2 separate regions of the Homo sapiens genome follow, and region 1 is linked to region 2. Evidence: promoter capture Hi-C in 16 types of primary human blood cells and fetal thymus (Javierre and others, 2016). All regions are on one chromosome and are shown on one strand. The core of a region is centred on a gene start or on the middle of the fragment in contact, and the rest is flanking DNA. Distances in the headings are between cores, read along the strand shown.

The links. The method cuts DNA at HindIII sites, captures the fragments that hold promoters and counts their contacts. A CHiCAGO score of 5 or more calls a contact.
Region 1: a fragment that was not itself captured here is called in contact with the fragment with the promoter of NFE2L3 in region 2 in 2 of 17 cell types (fetal thymus and erythroblasts); the score reaches 6.7 in fetal thymus.

The regions. Positions count from the first base shown.
Region 1 is chr7:25,871,998-25,876,790 of GRCh38, forward strand. No RefSeq gene overlaps it. Among named protein-coding and RNA genes, the nearest start is that of MIR148A, 76 kb to the right of the region's middle. The HindIII fragment of the contact is 1,660 bases long and covers 600-2,259 here.
Region 2 is chr7:26,150,013-26,155,425 of GRCh38, forward strand. It overlaps NFE2L3 (NFE2 like bZIP transcription factor 3), which reads left to right and starts at 2,186. Exons shown (of 4, transcript NM_004289.7): 1 at 2,186-3,056. The coding sequence starts at 2,487. RefSeq lists silencers at 1,975-2,354, 2,375-2,444, 2,455-2,524, 2,635-2,884, 2,895-2,964 and enhancers at 2,146-2,940, 2,941-3,734, 3,085-3,274. The HindIII fragment of the contact is 3,470 bases long and covers 613-4,082 here.

The DNA of each region.
Region 1 (4,793 bases), core at 180-2,679, 280 kb before region 2:
AAGGAGTGAGTAAAGTAAAAGGTCCCTGGAGGTTCTTTTTGGCTCTCAGATTCCATAATTCTGTGGCCTCTAAGAACACACACTGTAGTGCCCAAGAAGGGCTGGTGACTGATAAGTGTCACCTTTCCTGTGGTGTCCAGAGGCACAGGCCAGCACTGCTCACAGGTGTGCTGAGATGTGAGAGAGGATGGCATCTGGAAGAAACAGAAAAGCTGCAGACCAGGCTGGCTTCACCAGATCTTGTTTGTTGAGTAATCTCTTTCAGGAGACAGCAGTGTATCCAAGTGCCGTCTTGCTAAAGGTTTTGTAGGGCCTGAATCGTATATAATTTGGGGGCCCTTCTTTGAGGAAAAGATTATGAAATTATACAAATGTCAAAATGGCCAGGCACTGTGGCTCACGCCTATAGTCCTGGCTACTCAGGAGGCTGAAGCAGGAAGATCACTTGAGCCCAGGAGTTACAGGCTGCAGTGAGATGTGATTGCATGGCTGCACTGAAGCCTGGGTGACAGAGCAAGAGTCTGTCTCTAAAAAAAATAATAATAACAATGCACAGGGCCTTGAAAGGGGCCCATGCAAGTGAGAGACCCTGAAACCTAAGCTTCATTAGCTTCCTAACTTACCTTGCCTGCAACCACAGTATTATGATTCCTTTACAGATTAGGAAACTGGGGTTTGGAGAAGTGAAAGGACTTGTTCCAAGTCATGTCATTGATGAGTGGCCAAGTTGGAAATGGCTCCAACACTACAGCTGCACTTACAAGTAGGGTGGAGCCTCTGCTCTCACCTCTGGGTAGGTCTACGGTTGCTGGGGCTCCTATTTCTCTGAGAGGTGTTCACTCCTCACTCTGAGCAGAGTAGTTTAATGCTGAGTATCCCCCTGTATGAGGGTTTCAGAAAACCTGAAGGTTTGCCAGGCCTACAGTGCTTAGAGGTTTGATTATGGGAGCCTTCAGTGAGGGCAACTGACAACACTGATCATCTGTGAGTGTTAAAAGAAACAATATTTATGGCTATGATAAAAGATGTAAGCATTAATGTCTATGGCAGAAGTCAGGAATGTGGTCACAAAAGTGATCCTAGAATGTTAATGATGCCAGGGACCCTGTCCAATGCCATCTTTCTCCAACTCAAGATGAAAACTGAGGCCAGGGAGATTAAGTCAGTTGCCCTAGGTCACAGAGATTCCAGTGCCAGAGTTGGAACTAAGAATCTACTGCTGGAATTGCAATGCTTTGTTGCCAACATCCTTACTGGGGCTCCAATTCTACAAAATATTCTTTATTTACTCCCTAAGCAAGGACAGTAATGCTGCTTTCAAGAGTTGAACACTTAACCATGAATTTTGATTTTTGCTTTATTTCAATAATAAACAAAACACTTTCCATGTATTTTTTTTTATTCTACAAAATGCTTGGGGGAAAAAAATCTCCTATCATGATTCTTGCAAAAAAAGTAATTTTCCACATTTACATTTAGCTGATTAATGGTACTGCCTGGTGCTTTCTATTGTTAAACAAAGAGTTAGCCCAGTTAGGGGTGTTCGTGAAAAGAAAGTTTCCATGCCTGAACTTCCACCTTGGTGTCACTGAAGGATATATTTTCACGCATTTTAATTGACTTTTGGAAGATTGTTGCCTATAATAAGATTTAAGATGTCCCATTTCCAATAAGCTGGCTACATTGTTCCCACAATTCCATGCCAATAGATGAAGTTTATTGCTGGTGATGGCCACTTTCCCTCCCATTTCCTGTCTTTCTCCTCATTTTTCTACTCTGGATACTTCCCCAGCTACTGAGAAAATGTTCAAAATGGTCCTCTAAAACTATGGTGCTCAATAGAACAACTCGCAATGATGGAAGTGTTCTCAGTTGGCACTGTCCAATATTGTAGCCATTAGCTATATGTGGCTAGTGAGCCCTTGAAATGTGATTATTCTGACTCAGGAACTAAAATTTAAATTTCATTTTAATAAATTTAAAATATAGTCATGTGACTAATGGCTACCATATTGGACAGTTCAAATGCAGAATATTTTCATCACTGCAGAAAATTTTATCAGACAGCACTAAGCTAAAGGGTCTACCCCTGAGCAAAAGCGCTGAGACTCTACCCCATGTCTGACCCTGAGCTGGGTTCATTATTTGGGCTGAGCTAAAAGAGAGGCCTCCAAGATGGCTTGGTGTGCAATTTCTGGGACTTAAGGATACAATGAGTTCGGGCAGGGTGGAGGCACTGTATTGGTTCCTATACAATCAAGCTTTGGAGTGTATAATGGAGAAGAAAGCTTAGAGACCTCTAGTTGTTGCCCCTCTTTACAGACAGGAAAACTCAGTGGCAGTAAATTAGTCGCTTGGCAAAAGTTAACACAAAAGTTAATAATTGAGCTTGTCTGCTAATTCCCAAGCCAGTCCTCTTTTCTAGTTGGGTACAGACCAGTGTTGGAAGACCAGGGCATGTCATTCTTTCTTGTATTACTTCAGCACATCCATATTGTGTATTTCCCCTGTATGAGGATTCTTTTGTTTAGGATGGACAGGGTGGGAGACATGAGCTGCCTCTTGGTGGAGGAGAAAGGTGTGTTCGTCAGCTTGCCTCAAAGGGCTGTGCAGGGATGGGATAGGGTGACCAAGCCTTACCTGGGACTGACTCAGTTTTAGCACTCAAAGCCCCCATGCCAAGAAATCTCTCAATCCGAGGCAAATCAGGATAGTTGTTCCACTGATACCAATGATAATGTCACCAATCTTCCAAAATTCAGATGAAGCAAAGAATCAAGGCAAGTTGCCAGCCATGGTGATATGCACCTGTACTCCCAGCTACTCAGGAGGCTGAAACAGGTCGATCACTTGAGCCCAGGAGTTCAAGTCCAGCCTGGGTAACCTAGCAAGAGGTCATCTCTAAAAAGAAAAAAAAGAATCAAGGCAAGTCTAACATTTTGGTGGGTGGCTTATGCCTTTGCTTTATAGATTCAGAGAAAAAGACGTTTCCTGGTACTTTTCCCTTCATCTGCATTCAATTGTTCTCCTCAACCAGCAACCTTAAAGCAGCACTGCTTTTAAATGGACCATGTCTCCTTGCAGAACATTACATCTTAAAACATACCTTTAAAAGACCATAACATGATTTTAAAACAGAGATATGGAGCGATTAATCCACAATGTAGGACTCTGTTCTGGAGGCTGAGACCGGCTGTTACAAGGTGAAGGCATTTATACAGTCGTCAGTCATCTGCACCAAAACCTGCTTTAGTGGAGGTCTGGGGATTTCTAATGGCCTCTTTAAGAATGCCCTGTTTCCACTCGAATCACTCCTAGACAGAAATATTATTCAGGTACCCATCAAACACCTGGCTATGACATCAATTAGCCAAAGCCCCAGAATGAAGGAGTCAGCAGAGGATACCAGACAGAGTCCCAGGTTAGGAAACAAGAATCTGGGTTCTAGTTTTAATTCTTCCATTAGATAGGCTGTGTGACCTTGGGAAAATCACTTGAACTCTCTGAGACTCAGCTTCCTCATCTGCAAAGGGAGATACCAATGCCTGGCCCAATTGTTCTCATGGGGAGATTATGGGGAATCAGTGAAGTAATAAATGTGAATGTGCTTTGAAAAGTTTTGCACCAACCTTGGTTTGCACCAACCTCAGTGCAAAAGAAATTGTGTTTTTGCTATTCCTTTTGCACCAACCTAATACAACGACAAGATACATAGTTCAGGGCCTCTGATAGATGAATCTGAGCTTTGGAAATGTAACCATGAGTGGAGATGAAGCACAATTACAGGGCAGGGAGAACCAACCTTCACTTAAATCATCCACCTCCCTGAAGGGTGAGAAAGGGGTCATATAAAGGCAGAAAAGAAACAGCAGAAGAAACACTAATCCAGAGAGAACGTATCAAAGGGCTAGAGGAAGTTGAAAAGGCTACATTGTCTCATTCTGGCATTTTCTTCTGTAACAAAGATGTAAAACCTCAAACTGGGTCATTTAAAACAAAATGCCAGAACAATTGCAAGGCCCCACAAAGGCAGAAACACGCACAAGATACATCTATTAATGTGTACTTACGCTGGATATTGTAGTATTGGAATGCATGTCAAGATATTGCTTTCCTGCTATTTCTGTATAGAATACATAGGAGATATCACAACAATTAGATCACTCGCATCTGAAGTGACCAATTAGATCACTCCAATCTAATTTATTTTCCCAGAACATTTTTTACACTGACGGTCCTTGTATTAGTCAGCTACTGCCACAATAATACTGTGTAACAAACAGCCACCAAACCTCAGTGTCTACATGTCAGTCAATACTGATTTTTTGTTATTGAGTCTAAGGCCGGTTCTGATGGTGTCAATTGGGTTCACTTGTGCACTTGTCATCAACCAGGGATTGGGAAGATGTATCTGCTGATTTTGGCCAGGCTCACTCATATGTTTGGGGGTTAGGCTTGGCTGACTAATACAGAACTATGTCTCTGGGAGCTCTTCTATGTGTACAGTTGACAGATAAAATGCAGGATACCCAGTTAAATTGGAATTACAGATAAACAATAGATACTTTTTTAGTGTAAGTATATCCCAAATGTTTGCTGAATCTGGCAAGCCTACCTGTGAGTCTCCCCATCCCTCTAGCAGGCTAGCACAGGCACAGCTCCGTGGCCGGCAGGGGAAGCACAGTGGAACTTGCTTGGTTCTCTGGAGTCTAGACTCGGCTGGTACTTCATTGCCTTCTGTTGGCCAAAGCAAGTTTGTGACTTTGCCCAGCCCAGATTCAAGGACTACAAAG
Region 2 (5,413 bases), core at 936-3,435:
GGTTTGGACTTTTCACTTGGCTATTCCTAGATGGAGGATTCTAGAAATAAACCTAAAGAGAAGTTTTTCCTTCTAATTTCATTCCATTCTCCCCATGCTCCTAAAAGTGGGACTTTTTATTGTGAGTAAAGTCAAGGGTATGTAGGATTGTCTCCTGGTTAACACTTTCCTGCAAGGTCTTTTAGGTACCCTTGTTCTTCCCACCAGTCAAGAGCCAGAGTTAAGCCATGCTTTTGAAGTGTATAGTCTGAAAGATATTTAACACTATGATTACCAATTCACATTGTAAAATGGTGAGGGGTTAGCCCACTTCCCAACAAATGTTAGAAGTTTGTATGTGCTTCCTGTTCCCAGTCTATTCAGATTTCTCAAAATACATCTCAAGTGTAACCTCCTCAATTCAACTAATATTTTTTTTGAGCATCAACTGTGTGTAAGATTCTGGAGGGCACCGCCTTGAAGAAGGCACCGCCTCTACTCTCAATAGTTTTAGAGCTCCCTATATAAACCTTGAAGTAATTTACATCTAAGTATTTTGGCAATTGAGTACATTATTTCTCTTGTTTCTTAGTGTCTCACAAATTTTTATCTCATCTCCCTAGTAAAACCATAAGCTTACGGAAGGAAAGAACTCCGTTTCATATCCTTCATGCCTCCAGCACAGCCTCAGGCAGTTAGTAGGTTCTCAGTAAAAAGCTGAAGGCAGCATTTACTAAGCTGAGACTCTAAATCCGCTGTTCAAAGACTAAATGCTGTGAACGGGGTCTTGATAACCTGGCAATCACCTTTCTTCATCCTCTTTGCCACCCCAACCCATCTTCCAAGGCTTAACACAGAGGAAGCAACTTTCCTCTGCTCCCCTGTTTCTGCTCCCCTGGTCCCCATTCTTTTCTCTTCTTACTACACTAGCCCAGGAGAGAGATGAGAAAGCCAGGTGGAGGGAGGGGCCTTTTAAAACAAGTCTTGCTCAACTTTTTACACAACTGCCCATTCTCAGTTGGGCATCCCCTCCTGTCCCCTTTTCTTCCAAGGAAGGGAGCTAAGGTTAGTAAAACCTACCCTTGCAAGGCCCAGTGCTGGGTACTGTGCATGGACAAAGGTGAACCAAACAGGTTCCTTGTCCTCAAGAATTTACAATGGGCAAATCAGACCGATTCTCATCTACAACACAGAGTTGAATGGGCCAACTGTTACAATGTTGGCAAACGGAGAAATCACGGTGCAACAGATGGGGGAGAGATTAATGCCAACTGGTGAAAATTCAGAGGATGTAGCTTTGGAGCTAAGCCTTGAGGGTGAGTAACACAAACAATGGGTAGCAGGGAGCACTTCCTACCCATGCAGTGCTGTGGTCGGTGGTTTACATGCATTATCTCATTTGGGGCTCACAAAAGGTCTGCTGGGGAGGTGCTATTATTAGTCTCATTTTACAGTGAGAAAACTGAGGCACAGAGAAAAGGAGAGATTTGTCCAAGGTCGCCCCTCAAGTGGAGGGGGGACTTGAACTCACTCAGGGTAACTGTAGAGCTGGTGCTGTCAACCCTCAAGGAAACAACGGATAAGGAGCAAAGGATACCGAGAGGAGGTCTAGCACTATGCAGAGCACGCCCAGAGAAGAGAGAGGGGTCTGTGAGGCTGGGACTGGGGTGTGCGGAGTGGTGGGATGACTGATCCCAATGGCAACGGTGGAATTTATATGTGAAACTCCGAACTTTACACGAAATATTTCATCTGACCTCAACACATCCCTGTTTGACAGGCTCTATGATCCCCATTTTACAGATAGCGGAACTGAGACAGAGAGGTTACTCTTGCCCACTCTGCCCGCCAAGTGTCCTCACGTTGGGGTGGAAGCCCGTTGCAAGCTGCCAGGCCCCTCGTAGCTGCCCAGTCACTCTCCGCCCAGTCTACACATCCTGTCCCTTCCCACCCAGCTACCCACCACCTAGCCCTCCACCCCAACTCCCGCCCTTGGCTTTCAGCAAGGATGGCCCAGCTCACGGCCACAGGGTGGCAAGGGGCCACTTGGTGCCCAGAACAACTTCTGCTCCCAGAAAGCCTTGCGTTCCCCGGACATAAAGAGGCTTTGAGCTCGGGGAGCCCCGCCCCGTGCGGCCCCTCCCACGGGCGCGGGCCCCGGGCGGCAGGGGGCGTGTTCCTGTCGGCTGCGCCCGCGGCCGGGGGCGGAGCTTGGCCACCGCGCCGGGCTGCGGGCGGCTGGGCGAACGGGCTCGGCGCTCAGGTGGCTCCTTCTTCGCTTCTCCCGATCCCCGGCGGTGCCAGGCACGGTGCCGGCTGCCGAGGGAACGCCTTTGTGCCCGGTGCTGGGAACCCGCGACGGCCGCCACGCGCCCCGGTCCATTGTTTCGCTTATCTGGGTTCCAGGCAGGTGCGGGCGGCGCGCGGGGTCCGCACGTGTCACCCCGGCGGCTGGGGCGCCGGGACCCGCGGGCGCCGGCAGGGGCGTTCCCGGGCGCGCGGCGGCGATGAAGCACCTGAAGCGGTGGTGGTCGGCCGGCGGCGGCCTCCTGCACCTCACCCTCCTGCTGAGCTTGGCGGGGCTCCGCGTAGACCTAGATCTTTACCTGCTGCTGCCGCCGCCCACCCTGCTGCAGGACGAGCTGCTGTTCCTGGGCGGCCCGGCCAGCTCCGCCTACGCGCTCAGCCCCTTCTCGGCCTCGGGAGGGTGGGGGCGCGCGGGCCACTTGCACCCCAAGGGCCGGGAGCTGGACCCTGCCGCGCCGCCCGAGGGCCAGCTGCTCCGGGAGGTGCGCGCGCTCGGGGTCCCCTTCGTCCCTCGCACCAGCGTGGATGCATGGCTGGTGCACAGCGTGGCTGCCGGGAGCGCGGACGAGGCCCACGGGCTGCTCGGCGCCGCCGCCGCCTCGTCCACCGGAGGAGCCGGCGCCAGCGTGGACGGCGGCAGCCAGGCTGTGCAGGGGGGCGGCGGGGACCCCCGAGCGGCTCGGAGTGGCCCCTTGGACGCCGGGGAAGAGGAGAAGGCACCCGCGGAACCGACGGCTCAGGTGCCGGACGCTGGCGGATGTGCGAGCGAGGTAGGTGCAGAGCGGGAAGCGAGCGAAGTGCGGCGTCTACGCCGCCGGGAGCCCCCGAGGCTTGTGTCGGATCTGAGCAGGGGCCACTCTCGCTGTGTCCTGGCACCCTTAGCCCCTGGTCTTTGCAGGTTCGCAGATGCTGCTGCTCTGATTCCGAATGAAGGGCTACTAGTGCTGTCGCTGTGGTTTTTAGGTGTTTAAGGAAGAAGTGGACGAAATCATCCGTTTGGTTATAGAGAATACCTTTCCTTGTGTGTGATGGCTGGCAAGAGTAGTTCGGGGATGGGGAGGGGAGAAGCAATGCCCACTGTCTTCGCTCAGTACCTCATGTACACTGGGGTGTCGTTCTCTGGGACCCGTGCCCGACCTGGACGATGTGAAGGAGGCCGTGACCTCTGGGAGGATGCATGTTTTTAAGAACGACTCTCCCGGCCTAACGCAAGGACCTTCGCCCTGTTTTCAGCCCAATTGCTGTTCGTTTTTGCTGCTTCCCTGGATTAAGGAGCCATGGTCAGGGTCTATTCAGAGGCCAGCCGGCAGGCGGTCCCCCTGTGACCTAACCATCCCCTGCACCTAGCAATCCTCCTTCCTGGAATTTGTGTAACCTCTTATTAGCATAACGAAAACAGGTACCTTGGCAGTCACTTAGTGACTAACAAGTTCCCTTTGGTTTATGGGTCCAAACCCTTCTCTGGCTTAACTTCTTTCTGAAACCAAGTTTACCAAGATCTGTTGCTTGAAACATCTGGTGCTCCCCATGGAACGTTTGAGTTCAGTCTAATGACACTTTAACACCAGTTTCCACAAAACCACTTTACCCAAAGTTCCTTCCAGGGGACTTTTAAAATTCTGTCTTGGCTCAAACTTTAGTGTTTGCAACTGGTAACGATCAACCAGTGGTGATCAACTAATGTTCTTCGGGTGTTGTTTTTGTGGGGCGCATTCTTATGCAAAATGGGAATTGGGGCTAAACTGGTTTGTTTGTTGCTCTTCAGAATTGCCGTTTGTGTAGGCTGTTGCCAGACAAGCTTCTCCACCCTCCTGGAGGGGTCATTGTGTGGAAGTGCTCGGTGATTCACTGTTATGCTGATCTGAGCCCTTCCTCTTCCTGGGGACCGGAACCAATGGGGTGGGGGCCAGTGAGAGTCTTGGAGGGATCCTTCTGTGTTCAGGATATACTGTGGGAGGTTCTTCCCCACTCACTCATCCAATCTGGACCCCATGGGGTCTGTCTCACCTAAATGCTCTGCCCTCTAATAAGTGAGTACTTGTGCACTACCACCATTCCTGGTTCTGTAACACAGAGTTGAAACCTAGTGCTGGATGCTGTACCAGATGGCACTCTGCCACCCACACCCGAATGCCAACCTGTGTGCAAAGTGCACAGGGACCTGGAGGGAGAAGAGAGGAAGCTGTTCAGTCCTCGGAAACTTCCCTCCCGGCATCACCTGGGAGACAAAGTGGCCTTCCCTTGGCTGTTTTTTTGTTTGTTTTGTTTTAAAGACAGGGTCTTGCTCTGTTGCCCAGGCTGGAGTGCAAAGGTGCAATGACGACTCACTGCAGCCTCAACCTCCCCGGCTCCAGCAATCCTTCCACTTCAGTCTCCCAGGTAGCTAGGAGAACTGGCGTGCACCACCATACTGGCTGATTTTTTGTAGAGACAGGTCTCGCTATGTTGCCTAGGCTGGTCTCGAACTCCTTGGCTCAAGTACCCATCCCATCTCAGCCTCCCAAAGTGCTGGGTTTACAGGCATGAGCCACCATGGGTGGCCTAGACTGGCAGGCCTGCCTTGGAGGCATTTTTTGAGCCTAGGCCAGCCAAACCACTGTGGAGGCTCTGAATCCAGCTTTCCTAGGGGAGAGAGTGAAGTTCCCCGAGAACCATTCTCCTGGCAGTGCCTTCCTGGCTGGGCTGGCATGTGTGCACCATGTTCACTGCTGGGATGACCTGGTTACATTCAATCTGGCAAAAATCAGCTGTCCAGCTCCTTACAGTTGTCACGGCCAGTTCACTTTTGTTGCCTTTTACATCAACCTTGTGTGGTGCACTGGCCAGGCACCCTTATATACAATTTGTACTTAAGAAAAATAGGGCTGAGTGCGGTGGCTCACACCTGTTATCCCAGCACTTTGGGAGGCTGAGGCAGGCAGATCACTTGAGGTCAGGAGTTCGAGACCAGACTGGGCAACATGGTGAACCCCATCTTTACTAAAAATACAAAAATTACTTGGGCGTGATTACACATGCCCGTAGTCCCAGCTACTCGGGAGGCTGAGGCACGAGAATCACTTGAATCTGGGCGGCGGAGGTTGCAGTGAGCCGAGATTGTGCCACTGAACTCCAGCCTGGGTGACAG